Linked DNA regions of Homo sapiens: regions 2, 3, 4 and 5 are each linked to region 1. The links are contacts of gene promoters, found by promoter capture Hi-C in human tissues and cell types (Jung and others, 2019). All regions are on one chromosome and are shown on one strand. Each heading gives the region's core, a stretch centred on a gene start or on the middle of the fragment in contact. The rest is flanking DNA. Distances are from core to core; before and after follow the strand shown. Region 1 holds the start of TMC6 (transmembrane channel like 6). Region 2 overlaps LINC01973 (long intergenic non-protein coding RNA 1973). Region 3 has its middle 11 kb from the start of LINC01993. Region 4 overlaps TNRC6C (trinucleotide repeat containing adaptor 6C). Region 5 overlaps LINC01993 (long intergenic non-protein coding RNA 1993).

Region 1 (2,902 bases), core at 108-2,607:
CAGGGGGCTCCTCCCCCACACACAGAGGTCACTCCATGCCACCGCCGTCAGGGCGCCAAGGTCCTCATGTTCTCAGAAGACCCACTGCCCTGCATTCCATCATCCCAGGGCGGCCGGCTGGGGGTGGCCAGGACCTCAACAGGCCTCCTTTGTCCTGGCTCTGCCGTCACCCGGCACAACTGGAACCAGAGCAGCCTTGTCTGGGGCCCTGGGCTCGGGGCCCGTTCATCTGTGAGAGTGGAGCCAGGACTCAGCTCCCAGCCACCAGCGAGTCCTGCCGGCCTCTGCCCTGGACTCCTCCTGCGCTCACCCTCAGGAACTCAGGGCTCAAAGTCGGCCGGGTTGAAGGGCGCTTTCCTCGGACAGGCAAAGCCCGGGGGCGCCCCGACAGAGCAGCTCCTTGCAGGGGTGCCAGTCACAGGACCGGACGGCGCCCTCCCTCAGTGTCCTGGGTGCCATCTTCGGGCCCAGGCCCCACACCACCCCCTCCCTCCAGCAGGAGCAAAGACGTGGGAAAACCAGCCCAGAGCTGGGTCCGAGGCGGCCCCACCCAGCCTAACACGGGACAGCTGCCGAAAGAGGGGCTGAGGACGCCCCACCCAGTCCCTAGAGCTGGAATCCCTTCCTCCAGACAGGCCCTTCTAAGCTCAGGGAACCCGGGGACTCGGGCACCCAGCGCCCCAGCACTCCGCCCCGAGGCCCAGGCAAGTCCAGCGGAGTTTCCAGGCGCACCATTCCTGAGCTAGGTGGGGAGAGGCTGGGTGGCGCCCGTTTCCAGGAACCCCCACCCCAGCCGGCAGCGAGCTTCCCGGGAGCAGCCGCTACCCAGGGAGAACCGCAACCTGGCCCCAGAGCCCAGAGCGGCTGCAACTCTGGGGCCACCGAACCCGTCCAGCCGGCCTCCCTGTCCCCCGCCCCTTCCCATCCCGGCCACACCCCCTCCCCTCCCCTCCCCGTGCCCTGGCGCTCGGCTGGGGGACCTGGGTGGGGGCTGCGGATTTTGCTCCCCGCACTGTCCTCCCCGCCCCTGCCGCTCCCAGCTCTGTCCGAGCCGGAGGGTCAAGCCCTGGGAGCTCCAGGAGCACCCGGGGAGGGAACTCGGCTGCCAAATGGCCCCAGAGGCCGAAAGGAATTCAGGGGGGATTGCCGCTGTCCCCGCATAGGAGAAGCAGCTGGGGCTGGCGGGACCCGGGACCGGGATCGCGGCCGCTCACCTGGGAGGCGCCGGGGAGGAGGGGCCGCGCGCGCAGCCAGGGCTCACCTGTGCCCCGCAAGAGCCGCCGGGAACTGAGGTCTCGGCTCTCCTTGCCAAGGGAGTGGCAAAGGGCCCCAGGGGCGACTGGGCCAGTCGCAGGTCTGCCGGGGCCGGGGGAGTAGCCGCACCTCCCGGCCCACGTGGGCGGGGGGGGGGGGGGCGGGCCTCGGCTATCACGTGACCCGGCCCGGCCCGCGGCGCCCCCGCCCTCCTCCGGGCGCCCCGCGGCGACTATGCCTTCCTCCCCTGCCAACTTCCGACCCCTCCTCCTGAGGTCTGAGCTGGGCTGGATTCATTCCAGCCCCTGGTTGAAGTCCCCAATTTTTCTGACGCTCAGTTTCCCCAAGTTCCAAAAAGGGGCAATATTTCCAGACTCATCTGCTTCCCATGGTTAGGGATCGTCCAAGTAAGATGCCGCCGAAAGCCCCAGGGACACAGAGTATCTCACTCCAGATTGGGCAGCGCCCCCCCCCCCGCCGCCCCCGCAAGCCTCCTGCTGACTCTCCCCGACCCCGGCGGGGGGAGCCTGGTTATCTCCCACTCCTGACACCTGGGCGGGGTTCATTGTTTATCTAGCAAGAGTTCTGGCTCACTTCCTGTGTGCTGTGTGGAGAGGAGGGGATGAAAAGGAGGACACGCTGACACTTAGGTGACTGTCCCCAGGTGCTGTACCCGTTGCCCTGTTTTCTGTTATTCCCCATGAGCCAGGAAGGTATGCACTGATATTCCCATTTCACAGATGAGGAAACTGAGGCTGAGAGAAGTTAATCACCCTTTAGGGTGCCCCCAGCCAAAGCAGGAGACTTAGTGGTCCACCTGGGAACTCTATGGAGGAAACTGCCTTTGAGATTGTACCCCCCACCCCAAGCCCATTTGGAAGGGAGGGTCATTCCTGGCGGGGAGAAGCCATGAAGCAGGCAGGGTGAATGTGAGCTGGGGCCCAGGAGGGCAGGAGAGGGCACTGCTGCAGGGGAGAGCAGGCAAGCAAAAGCGAGGACCAGGCAGGGGTCAAGGCTGGGGCCTTTTGGAGCTGCCAGTGTGGTCCTCAGATGGCTACCCCAAGCTGGTTCTTGGCAAGTGGCACCCTGGCATGGAGACCCAGCCCCTGCCTCTCCTCCCACTGCTTCCCCCTCCCTGCATACCCACACTGAATTTGCATGAATGCCACCTCCTCTGGGGAGCCTCCCCAGATTGAACCCTGGTGGAGCACCTACCACTTCCTATTGACATGTACATCTGTGGTTCTGTGCCCCCTCCTACCCCAGCCCACTGTGTGCCCAGCACCAGCACATAGCTTGCGCCTGACACACAGAAAGGACTCTGGAAACCAGGAAGGAGGTGGGCAGAGAGGCAGAAAAGCTATGAACATTCAGACCTGAGATGACTGGGCCCTATAGCAGGTAGAGAGGGAGCAGAGAGGAAGGGCTGCGGGCTTCCCAGGGGCCCAAGGACAGAGAATTGGCAAAGATATGTCTTAAACATCTAGCCTGGGAGAGCATGAATGGAGCCAATTCCTGAGCACTTACTACCGGCCAGGTGCTAGGCCTGGGTCTTGGCACAACCATAACGCCAATGACAGGGGCTGGAAGTACAGCAGTAACACCAAGAGTATCTGGAAACCCAGCAGCCAGGTTCTGGGGAGCCCAC
Region 2 (2,902 bases), core at 222-2,721, 250 kb before region 1:
TAGCCTCTCCAGTCAACAGCCCTGGTGGAGTGGCCAGCCCAGAGTGAGTCAGCATCAAATGCCAGATGTGAGTGATACATCTTGGGGACTCTGACTTAGTCATGTTTGTTTATGACTGAAGCCCCATCCAGAAGAACCTCCCAGCTGAGCCCAGTCAACTCATAAACTCATGAAATAACAAAATGGTTGGTTTTCACAAGCCAAAAAAAAAATGTGTCATCAGAGATTCCACCAGAACAACTTTAATGGCTTGATGGGGATAGACCCCTAACCAAGAGGGATAAAGCATGAACAAGCATGTGTATTGTGTGCACATAGGCATGTGTGCAGGGAGGAGAGACAGTGTTTAGAAGGGCTTCGTTGAGGAACTTGACTTTGGAAGGATTGCTCATTTCCCTTCACTATTTAAAAGGTCCCATCTTTGCCAGGTCTCAGGCAAATTTCCTACCAGGAAAAGCCCACCCACAGCTTGAGAAAGCGGCTTCATCAAAGATCTTGACCCTGTGATCAAGCAGTCTCAGAGCCTTAGGCAGGGAGCAGCAGCCTCAGGCCCCAGTCCCAGCCCTTCTACTTAAATTATTGGGTCTCAGTTGGAAACAGTGGCTCACGACTATAATCCCAGCACTTTGGGAGGCTAAGGCAGGTGGATCGCTTGAGGTCAGGAGTTCAAGTCCAGCCTGGTCAACATGGTGAAACCCTGTCTCTACTAAAAATACAAAAATTAGCCAGGCATGGTGGCACACGCCTGTAATCCCAGCTACTCGGAAGGTTGAGGCATGAGAATCACTTGAACCAGAAAGGTGGAGATTTCAGCGAGCTGAGATCGCACCACTGCACTCCAGCCTGGGTGACAAAGCGAGACTCTGTCTCAAAAAAAAAAAAAAAAAATTGGGTCTCAATTTCCTCCTCTCCAATGCAGGGTTAATGGCACTTCGCCTGCCAATTTCTCAGGGCCATTGCTGGAAAGAAATAAAATGAAGGATATAAAAACTATCAAGGCAAAGGCTAATGTAAAAGATTCTTCTGATTCCTACTCAAAGGGAGGAGGAGGTTGAGGGAGGAGGAGGTTGAGGTCCAACCAGAAGCTGGCGGCCTCCTGAAGTTTCGACAGCACACTTCTCTAAAAGCAAGCTTAGGAAGATCAAGGCACCCACAGGGCTTTGAATCTCACTAGCAACCTCTGGCAACCCTTCCATTCTGCTCAGATTGACATTGTGCTAAAGAGCCTGCCTTTGGCCCCTTTGAGGGCTTCTTGGATTTGCAGGGAAAGTTAGGGACTGCTTCTGTGACCAAAATCAGAAGCCATTTCTACAGCACCTGCTAGAAGAGCTGGCTTCCCTCTCTGTCTAACATAATCCCATTTTCTGCCTCCAACATCTATGGCTTGAAATCTGTGCTGCCTTATGGCATGGAGGAGAGAGCACCAGAAAATGAGCCTAAAAAGTCAGAAGTTCAAAAAAGAGAAACAGAAAACATTAGCACCTTTATCCTACTGACCTGCAGGCAGCATCCTGCACCAGGACTGTGAGGAAGCCAAGAGAAGCCGAGAGCAGGCATAAGATGCAAAACAGAGTAAAATAAATAAAAGTCACGCATCGTGTTAGGGAGAGGGTCCACGTGGCCGACCAATGGCAGCAGACAGCCCCTCCTGACAGCTGCAGCTTTAGGGGGCCTTCAGAGTGGTTTCCATGGCACCCGTGCCTTCATAATCCTCACCCAAGCGGCTCTCCTTCAGCTCACCTTGCGTCACCAAGCTGGAGGAGAAATGAAGTAAGTGTGACAAATATGCTGATATCCAGAGAGAAAGAGAAGGTGGGGGAAGGAGGGAGGCAAGCCCAGGGGCTTCCTCCAGGGCAAGTGGCTGGGGTCCCTGCCTGGGGCTCTGAGGGCATTTCTGGGGGACCAGGCCTAACCAAACTCTGATTTAGAAAAATCCAGGGACTCAAATACCCAAACAGTTTGGAGAGAAAGGTGATCTGAGCTCCTGTGGGCAGATGGTCGGGCCTTACACAGCAGGTCCCTGGGAACACAGAACCCTGGGGCACCAGGCTCCATGGCCACCACGGTCAGGTCTTATTGTGCTCACTCCCCTCCAGGCCCCTGGCAGAAAGTTCAGCCTTTATCTCCACGCTGGCATATAAGCTGTGTGGCCTGCATTCACCGTGTGACCTCGCAAAGCCTGTGCTCATCTCTCTGAAAAAATACTGGGTTGTCCTGAATATTGAAAATCCTATATTTAGATGTTCCCAGCTCATGCCTAGGACATAGAAGGATTGCAGACAGCTGCAGATTTTTAATATACCCATTTCGTTGAAGTACAATTCACATGCAATAAAACTCACTAATTTTAAGTATACCATTTGATGGATTTCAACATGTATATGTAGTCATGGAGCCACCACCCAATCGAGATAGAGAATGTCTCTATGATGCAGAAAAGTCCCTCCTGGCCCTCTGCAGTCAATCTTCTCCCCCCATCTTGGCCCCAAGCAACCACTGATGGATTTTCTGTCCCTAAAGCTCTGCCTTTTCCAGAATGTCATATATACAGAGGCCTCTGTGTCTGGCTTCCTTCACTTCGCACAATGCTTTCAAGGCTCACCCACATTGCTGCATGTACCAGTAGCTCCTTCCTTTTCCCTGCTGGATAGCATTCCATCCTTTGGATTAAACAGAAACTTTCTTGCGTGTGTGTGTGTGTATGTGTATGAGACTGGGTCTTGCTCTGTTGCCCAGACTGGAGTGTAGTGGCCTGATCATAGCTCACTGCAGCCTCGGCCTCCTAGACTCAAGCAATCCTGTTGCATCAGCCTCCCGAGTAGCTGGGACTGCAGGTGTGCACCACCATGCCCAGCTAAATTTTTTTATTTATTGTATTTTATTTCCTGTTTTTTTCTTGTTT
Region 3 (2,902 bases), core at 191-2,690, 160 kb after region 1:
ACAAGTGCCCGCCACCGTGCCTGGCTAATTTTTTGTATTTTTAGTAGAGATGGGGTTTCACCATGTCAGCCAGGATGGTCTCAATCTCCTGACCTCATGATCCACCTGCCTCGGCCTCCCAAAGTGCTGGGATTACAGGCGTAAGCCACCGCGCCCAGCCAACTTTAGCCATTTTTAAGTGTTTCAATTCAGTGGCAGTAAGTATCTTCACATCGTTGTGTGACCAAGTGTCAGAGGTGACGTGGGCTGTCCAGGACACATGACTGGTGGGAACTACAGGGTCCCCGTCCTGGTCCTCACACCGCTGTTGGCCCTGGACAAGGTATGTCTTCTGAGTGCGACCAGAGGCCCAGAGAGCACGGGATTGGCTGCGGTTGCCAGTGCCTGGGGCAGTTCCCGCTAATGCCATCGTCCTGGGGATCCCCTTGAGTCCCCTGCTCCTGCTTCTTAGTTTGCTGCACCCCAGAGGGTGACTGGGACCCCCATGCCTGGGACACTGGTTGCATAGGCAGCTTCCAGGGCCACCCCAGACCTCCCAGCTCAGAGTCCTGGGGCCTGGGGCTGTGAGTTAATCAGTGTCCAGGCAACCAGGGATGCCACAAGAAGTCAGGAAGTTTCCAGACTTGCCTGGTCTCAGAATTATCTAAGCTCCTTTTTTTATTTTTTTTTTTTTAAGACAGGGTCTCGCTCTGTTGCCCAGGCTGGAGTGCAGTGGTGGGATTTTGGCTCACTGCAGTCTCAACCTCCAGGGTTCAAGTGATTCTTTCACCTCAGCCTCCCAAGTAGCTAGGACCACAGGCGTGTACCACCATGCCCCAGCTAAGTTTTTAAATATTTTGCTGAGACAGATCTTGCCATGTTGCCCAGGCTGGTCTTGAACTTCTGGGCTCAAGCGATCCTCCCAACTTGGCCTCCCAAAGAGCTGGGATTACAGGTGTGAGCCACTGCGCCCGGCCCATCTGAGCTACTTTTAGAAGTATAGGTTCTCTGGCTTCTCTCCAGCTGAGACCAAACCACCTCTGAATCTATTGTTAAGAGGTACAAGGGGCTTGTGATACAAAAGTGGCAAAGCTGGACAGGCACAGTGGCTCATGCCTGTAATCCTAGCACTTTGGGAGGTTGAGGTGGGCCGATCACTTGAGGTCAGAAGTTCAAGGCCAGTCTGGCCAACATGGTGAAACCCTGTCTCTGCTAAAAATACAAAAATTAGCCTGGCATGGTGGTGCGTGCCTGTAGTCCCAGCTACTCGGGAGGCTGGGACAGGAGAATCACTTGAACCTGGGAGGCGGAGGTTGCAGTGAGCTGAGATCATGCTGCTGCACTCCAGCCTGGGCAACAGAACAAGACTCTGTCTCAAAACAAAACAAAACAAAAACAAAAACAAACCTGCAAGGCTGTCGGTTCATGCGCTCATTCCTTCACTCATTACTGCAGTCCTACTCTGTGTATTCATTATTGCAGTCCTACTGTGTGTGCCTCACCTCTGCAGCCGGATCCTGCCCCAGCCCCAGGCATGAAGGCATGGAGCCCCTGCCTGTGCACGTCCTTCTTCCTGGGCTACCCTGCCTCTCCCCTTGTGCCTGACATTGAGGGCTGTGAGACCTCCTACTCGTCACCCCTCAGCCAGCTCTGTTTGGCCCCCCAAAAGCCTTGGGACCTCCTCGGGTCCTGGACGTGGGACTGGCTCTGATTCTAGCCTCTGGGCTGGGCTGCTGCTGACAAGTGTTCAGCTCCTGCTGCTCAGATGAATGAAGGGACAGAAGGCGGGTGTCTAGGCATGGCCGGGACCTGGGATTCTATTTTTTTTTTTTTTTTTTGAGATGGAGTTTCGCTTTTGTCGCCCAGGCTGGAGTGCAGTGGTGCGATCTTGGCTTACTGCAACCTCTGCTTCCAGGGTTCAAGCGATTCTTCTGCCTCAGTCTCCCTAGTAGTTGGGATTACAGGCGTGCACCACCAAGCCCAGCTAATTTTGTATTTTTAGTAGAGACGGGGTTTCTCCACGTTGGTCAGGCTGGTCTCAAACTCCCGACCTCAGATGATCCGCCTGCCTCGGCCTCCCAAAGTGCTGGGATTACAGGTGTGAGCCACCATGCCCAACCCCCCAGCCAGGACGGGAACTTCTTAGGATCCGGCTGCAGCCCAGGGCAGAGGAGTTCCCGCGGCTTCCTCCAGTGAGTTAAGTCAGGCCTGAGTGAGCATCTACTCTTTCTGGGCCGCTAGAGGGAGACCTTCGCAGCCTCGTACTTGGCTCAAGACACCAGGCTAAGGGGTGTCAGTGTGTGTGAGTGTATGTGTGTGTGTGAGTATGTGTTTTGTGTGTGTGTGAGTGGCGTGTGTGTGTTGAGTGTGAGTGTGTGAATGAGTGTGTGTGTGTTTTGTGTGTGAGTGCGAGTGTGTTTGTGTGTTGAGTGTAAGTGTGAATGAGTGTGTGTGTTGTGTGTGTAAGTGCGAGTGTAAGTGTGTGTGAGAGAGAGTGTGTGTGTCCTACCTGGGCATGCACGGGTGGGTGTGGGCAGTGACCTGAGCCCTGCACGTACTGCCAGGTGGCCCGGCTTGCCAAAGGTGGGGAAGGGTTATTTACCCAAAGTGGGAGAGACCTGCAGGCTGGGCGGCAGCGGCAGGAAGAACAGCGAGCGAGGCCACAGTGGCATCCATGGAAGATGTTATTTGGGGCCTTTTCCGTGCCTGCTACTGTTCTTCGCATCCTGCGTGTATCACGAGAAGCAATCCTATCAAAGGAGGACCTATGAATACAATATCCACTTTACAGAGGAAGAAACTGAGGCTCAGAGAGGCTGAGTCACTTCCAGAGCTGAGATTTGAACCCAGGGAGTGGGGGCTGGGGCCTGGGCTCCACAGCACAAAGGAGCCCTGCCTGCTGGGACAAGGAGCTGCCTTGTGG
Region 4 (2,902 bases), core at 249-2,748, 160 kb before region 1:
CTTAAGATTTTATAAGAAAGAAAATCGTTTGGCTGTGAACTCTAGGCTGTCCCGTATACCAAAGTAAAACACATGGGACAATTAAGATTTGGGGATAGAGCAAGCAAAGATTACCAAGAGCAACTGAAGCTGGTGGAGAAGGCACAAGAAATGGAGAGGAGGAGACAGGAACAGATTTATAGACGTCCTTGGAGCTGGCAGAAGGATAGGTTGAGGGAGCAGGAGGCGGAGTCCTGAACAGACTGAGCGTGAAAGGGTCTATATAAGCTGGGAAGAACCAGGTAACTTTATGTTTGTTTTGTTTTTGTTATCTTCCGTTGAACTTGTTTTGGCTTCTTTCTCATAATTTTAAGACATGGGTTTTTACCTTTTCTCCAGCTCTATCTCAGAGGGTCTTCAAATATTTTAGGTGAGAAGTAAGGAAATATTTTGAAGTGTTGGTGACACAGTCTTTGGTCTCTCTTGCATGACAACTGGTCCCAGTGAAGGTGACTGGATTTTAGTTACTTTAGATAGTTAACATCTTAATATTTTGTTTGAAGATGTCATAGATTTGAGTAGGGACAGCAAAATATCAGGTGAGAAGTGGCTCCTATTTTGTAGGGGGTAGATTGTACAGGTTTTCTTGCTTTTACTCAGTCTATGGCTATCCAAATTTATACAAATGAGTTTTTAAATAATTGTGTGGTCACGAGGAGAGCATTCTTTATAAAATGATATACAATAAGCTTTCTTTAAATAGACTTTAATGCAGTGGAGTCCATTTATAAATTTTCAGCTTATACATAACTTTTTAGGAATATAATTACTTAAAAATGTAAAGGTTACTTGTCAGAAATAACTATATAACCTTGTGCAGAAAGTGTATATCTGAAATTGAAACTGAGAAATGTATAATCTTAGCCAGTGAACTTGTTTGAATAACCCGATTAAAATAATGGTACAGTTTCCTATTGTACAGATCGTGCATTTGAAATGTTAATTTATTTAATGAAAAGTAAATTATGTAATTTTAAAAAATCTCCACCTGGGATATATATAACAAGGTTTTACATGTTTAAAACATGCTGAAAATCCATATCGTTTGTTCCATTTTTGGAGTTTTACTAAAAATGAATTCTTTTCTTAGCTTTAGATGTTTTCAGAGAATGAAGAAGCTATTGCAGGAATGGAGAGCTGTTTGTTAAGAATGCATTCCTCCTCTGTAGCCTTCAAAAGACTATAGAGCTGTGTGCAGAGCTAGACAATCTGGGCATCCAGCCATAAAACATCACTGCTGTAGCACAGATAGTTGTTCGCACTCTCCTGAGCCCTCTGTGGCTGCAAACCACAACAGAAGTAATGGTCTTGGGAAAGGAACACTCAATGTTATTTTGAACTCTTAATATTCTCTGTGTCTCTCTGAGTTCCAGCTATGCATTGGAACTTTGGTTTTCTAAAATATAGTAGTGATTAAGGATGAGCAATAATATAGCTTCTTAAGTATATTCCTCTTGTAAGCCAGTGGATTTAAATGTTTGCTCTAGGAAATAAGGGGTGTCTAGGAAATAAGAGTTGTCTGTCCCACCATCTTCCTCTTTATTTGCCTCTTTGTTGCAATACTTCTTTTCTGTTGGAGAACCACTGCCCTAAGACCCATATGATCACTGGGCCACACACAGTGCACATGGCCCAAAGAGTCATCTGGAATCTTCCAGATATTTTGTGGGATGGATTGGTCTAATTTGGCCCAGTTTCCACTTTCTCATGAACCTTTTTGGCATAACAAATTTTTAATTTTTTTGCACAAAAATGAAGAAGAGTGTGACTGGCATCTATTTGTATAAATCCAAATGGTTTACTCTGAAGACCCTCTCTGTTTTTCTTCTTCAGACCATTTTAGAAATTAATACTCTATTGTATCTTTATAACTTCCTTCTCTGAAGGATTGAACTACAAACCTATAGTATCACAGTGTCAAGTTGAATTATTCTCAGCAGTTGGATAACTCTTGTCTGTGGTTGAGTCCTTTACTAATGTGCAGACTGTCTTTTGACGTGGCTAATACCAGATGCAAGTTGGTGCCCAGGTGGTTATTGGGAATATGTGCTTTGTTTGATTCATTTTATGTGTGCCTTCTAGCTTATTAAGAATAAGATCTCTCACAGCTAAAATCAAGTGCTTGGTTTGAGCCTGGCAAAGATATTGTTTACTTTTTTATTCCCAAAGATCATTTCTTTTTAATTACTCTTTTAGGAAGCAGGGAAAATCTCAGTGAAAATAGCAACTGGGAATTAAACTAAGATCTGAAACTGGGAAATGGCAACGCGGGCACAGGTGTCACCTTTCCAACTGTTGTTGAGATGATGTGGACAACGGTTATTCAGAAATTACAGTGGGGAGGAGGGAGATGCACAAGTATTTTTTCTCATACTCCATATGAAATATGAAGTGCAGAGTGAGGGGCCCAGAGTGTAGGGAGGGAATTTAATAGGCTTTGTTCTTCAGGGGGCTATGGCTGATGTCTTAAACAAGGTCTTTTTTGGTAGGGAGGCACAGTAAGGGAAGAAGGTGATGGATTTGTGGGAACAAGTACATTTGAGTCACTGAGGACAATTGGGAATTGTGAAGTGGGAGTGGACGAGGTTAGAAAGCATCCTTAGGTAACCAGATCTCCATTTAAAACTAATCTGAGCATTTACAATGTGATTATGTGCCAAGGACATGAGTTTATCTTATTTAATCCTCACAACACTCCTGTGAAGTGGTTGCTTTTAACATTCCCATTTTACAGATGAGCAAAGGGAGTAATTTCCACAAGATCCTATAGCTTATAGGAGATGAAGCCAGAATTTAAACTCAATACACTTCAAAGCCCTCACATATGGAAAAAGCTTGGATTATTTTAATAGCTGCTTAATGA
Region 5 (2,902 bases), core at 201-2,700, 140 kb after region 1:
GGACCATTGCTCTTGGTCCAGATAAGGCATGACAAGGCCTGGGCCAAGACCCCTGAAATGGGGCATGGAGAGTCTGTGACAGCTCTGAGATATGTGGAGGGGAAGGGGAATGGAACCTGGTGACTTGTGGACCTGCGGAATGGGGGACAGGAGTTGAGATGACTCCAGGTATCTCCCGACATGAGCACATGTATCTGCAAATGAGGCGGGGGTCAGGAAGCACAGGGAGCTTGCTCTTGCCCCGGGGGCCTAGGATGCCCTGGGCTGTCATCATTCCACACTCACCCCTGACCTGCTCCTGCTCGCTCAGGGAGGCTGCCTTACAGGGAGGTATCAGTGGCTCCCTCATCCTCTGCCTCTGTGGAGCCCACAGTGGGAGGCACCTGCAGAACATGGGGGTGGGGGACAGTGCAGTTGGGGGCGTGGGTGTTCCTTCCTCTATCTGCCTCCCTCACAGAGTTGTGATCAAGCGAGTTGTAGAGAAACGCCACTCTCTGAGACGAATTCAGGCTAGTGCTCAAAATTCTCTCCACCCCAAAGAAGGGGCTAGATTTTCTTTTATACTTTGTTTTAGAAAGGGGCGGTGGGGGGAGTCTAGTTAAAACAATCTTACAGAAGCAAAGCAGACAAAAAAGTTAAAAGGATAAATGGTTACGGGAAAGCAAACAGTTCCAGGTGCAGGGGCTTTAAATGTATTACAAGGTGATAGACGCGGGGCTTTGAGTGTTATCAACCGGATACAAACGCGGGGACTCTGGGTGCTATCAACCGGGCGAATTCCTAGGAACTGCGGATATAACTTGCCACAGTATCTTATCAGTTAATTGCATCCTTGGATGTGCTGGCAGTCTGCTTGCACAAGTTAAGTCCTTGAGGAAGGGGGTGGGTAAGGGGCTGTAAGTGAAGGAGCCAAGATGGAGTCTGTCTGGCTCTCTCAGCTAAGGGAGAGTCAATTCAGGTTAAAACAAGGTTGGGTATCACAATAGCCCTCTCCATGCCTCTCTGTCCAGGGCTGGGATTGGTTGGCATACTCTGCATGCCTTTCCCCAGCCCTCCAGCTGTCCTAGAGTTGGGCTGGGATAACCCTCCAGCCGCCCTGTGAGTTGCACTGGGATCAGTCAGGTGTACTCTGCATGCCTCACCCCAGCCCCCGAGCCGTCCCGTGGGTTGGAGTTGTTTGCGTCACTGGCTTTCTGTTCTCAGCTGACTTAGCTGGGACGTCAACAACTCCCTATGTCAGAGGCAAGTCTCCGCCTGCATCTGCCAGAGCTCCACACAGCTGCAGACACCTGTGGCTTCATCTGAGTCCTCATCTCGGCCTCTGGGAACCACTCCTTCCTACCCTTTGCCTGGAGACAGTGGAAGCCGAGGGACATTTCTCCGAATGGCGTTCACTTGGCTCCAGAAATGAGAACTGGAATGAGGAAGAGGAATCAGTCTCCCTCCAGGTGGCTGAAGCTAGGCACGTGGAACCTGGGAGCAGCGGGCAGCCACACTGGTGCCCTTCAGACAGCAGGAGGGGGCTCTTGTCCGAAGCTCTGAGTTCAAAACAGAGGGGACATGGGGGAACAGCAGGAGGTAGGATCAGGCCCCCCAACTCCTGCCGAGAGCTCACACCTGTCTTCAGCCCCTCCTGCATTCCTGCCAGTGGTAGCCATTTGCCCTTTTGGTTGCCTGGTGTCCAAATACCCTTTCTACGTTGGAGGTAGGGTCCTGGGGGTCCCTGCTCCCTTTCCCAGGCTCTGAAAACTGACTCCTGGGAATGTGACCAAAATGATTACATTAAATGCTTCCACCTGAATGTTTAATCGTGAAGATGAGATGCCAAGTTCAAGAGTAATTTAGGGGCCAGGTGTGGTGGCTTGCGCCTGTAACCCCAGCATTTTGGGAGGCCGAGGCAGGTGGATCACTGGAGACCAGGAGTTTGAGACAAGCCTGGCCAATATGGTGAAACCCTGTGTCTACTAAAAATGCAAAAATTAGTCAGGTGTGGTGGTGCACACCTATAATCCCAGCTACTCGGGAGGCTGAGACAGGAGAATCGCTTGAACCTGGGAGGTGGAGGTTGCAGTGAGCCAAGATCAGGTCACTGCACTCCAGCCTGGGCGACACAGCAAGACTCTGTCTCAAAAAAAAATAAAAAATAAAAAAAGAGTAATTTAGGATTGTTCCCAAGGGTTGTGGTAGAGCCAGACAGCACTGTGTCACAGCATGCAGTGAGTATCCAGCCTCGATACCCTATGCAGCCCATTCTATGCTAACGGTTACCCCCACTGAATTCCTTTTCTGCATAGGTTAACCAGAGTGCCACTGTCAGTCACAATACTGACTAGTGGCTTCTCTTGGGTTTCCTGAGAAACTCCCTATATCAGTTAGTGAGTGCCATAATCAGGCTGTGTAACAAGCAGCCCCGCAATCCTGGTGGCATTCTACAATAAGCATTTGTTTTGCTCACATCTCTGTGGGTCTGTGGGGGTTCACCAGATCCAGGCTTGGATTAGCTGGCTGGCGTCTGGGCTGTGAGTTGGGTCCAGGTTTGCTTCACATGTTTCTTATCAACCTCGGCCCAGCAAGCTACCTGAGGCGTGTTCCTTCCAGGGTGACTTCAGCAGTGAAAGAGAGCAAGTTCATTGTGCAAGCACAGTTCAAGTCTACTCACTCCATATCCCCTGACATCCCACTGATCAAAGCAAGTCCCATAGCTATGCCCCAAGTCAAGGATGTGAATGCATAATTCTACTACAAGGGAGTGAAGAAGCAGGACTGATCATTCCATCCTCCCCTTATTTGTTTTTAGTTTTTATTATGAAAAAAAAAATTTTTTTTTGAGACCGAGTCTTGTTCTGTCGCCCAGGCTGGCTGAAGTGCAGTGGTGTGATCTCAGCTCACTGCAACCTCCACC

What was found. The method cuts DNA at HindIII sites, captures the fragments that hold promoters and counts their contacts. A contact is called where the count stands out against the background at its distance.
Region 2: a fragment that was not itself captured here is called in contact with the fragment with the promoter of TMC6 in region 1 in 1 of the 25 tissues and cell types used here (liver).
Region 3: a contact is called between a fragment that was not itself captured here and the fragment with the promoter of TMC6 in region 1, in 1 of the 25 tissues and cell types used here (lymphoblastoid cells).
Region 4: a fragment that was not itself captured here is called in contact with the fragment with the promoter of TMC6 in region 1 in 2 of the 25 tissues and cell types used here (aorta and hippocampus).
Region 5: a fragment that was not itself captured here is called in contact with the fragment with the promoter of TMC6 in region 1 in 2 of the 25 tissues and cell types used here (dorsolateral prefrontal cortex and lymphoblastoid cells).

The regions. Positions count from the first base shown.
Region 1 is chr17:78,127,398-78,130,299 of GRCh38, forward strand. TMC6 (transmembrane channel like 6) reads right to left here and starts at 1,358. Exons shown (of 20, transcript NM_001127198.5): 1 at 1,215-1,358. RefSeq lists an enhancer at 1-241 and a silencer at 922-1,451. The HindIII fragment of the contact is 22,186 bases long and covers 1-2,902 here.
Region 2 is chr17:77,876,106-77,879,007 of GRCh38, forward strand. It overlaps LINC01973 (long intergenic non-protein coding RNA 1973), which reads right to left. Exons shown (of 2, transcript NR_028337.1): 2 at 2,896-2,902. Among named protein-coding and RNA genes, the nearest start is that of LINC01973, 6.5 kb to the right of the region's middle. RefSeq lists a silencer at 1-164. The HindIII fragment of the contact is 3,702 bases long and covers 1-2,902 here.
Region 3 is chr17:78,287,742-78,290,643 of GRCh38, forward strand. No RefSeq gene overlaps it. Among named protein-coding and RNA genes, the nearest start is that of LINC01993, 11 kb to the left of the region's middle. RefSeq lists an enhancer at 1-418. The HindIII fragment of the contact is 5,194 bases long and covers 1-2,902 here.
Region 4 is chr17:77,962,378-77,965,279 of GRCh38, forward strand. All of the region lies in intron 1 of TNRC6C (trinucleotide repeat containing adaptor 6C), which reads left to right. Among named protein-coding and RNA genes, the nearest start is that of TNRC6C, 5.1 kb to the left of the region's middle. The HindIII fragment of the contact is 3,556 bases long and covers 1-2,902 here.
Region 5 is chr17:78,271,585-78,274,486 of GRCh38, forward strand. It overlaps LINC01993 (long intergenic non-protein coding RNA 1993), which reads right to left. Exons shown (of 7, transcript NR_073178.1): 2 at 1-383. Among named protein-coding and RNA genes, the nearest start is that of LINC01993, 5.5 kb to the right of the region's middle. RefSeq lists an enhancer at 648-1,337. The HindIII fragment of the contact is 5,166 bases long and covers 1-2,902 here.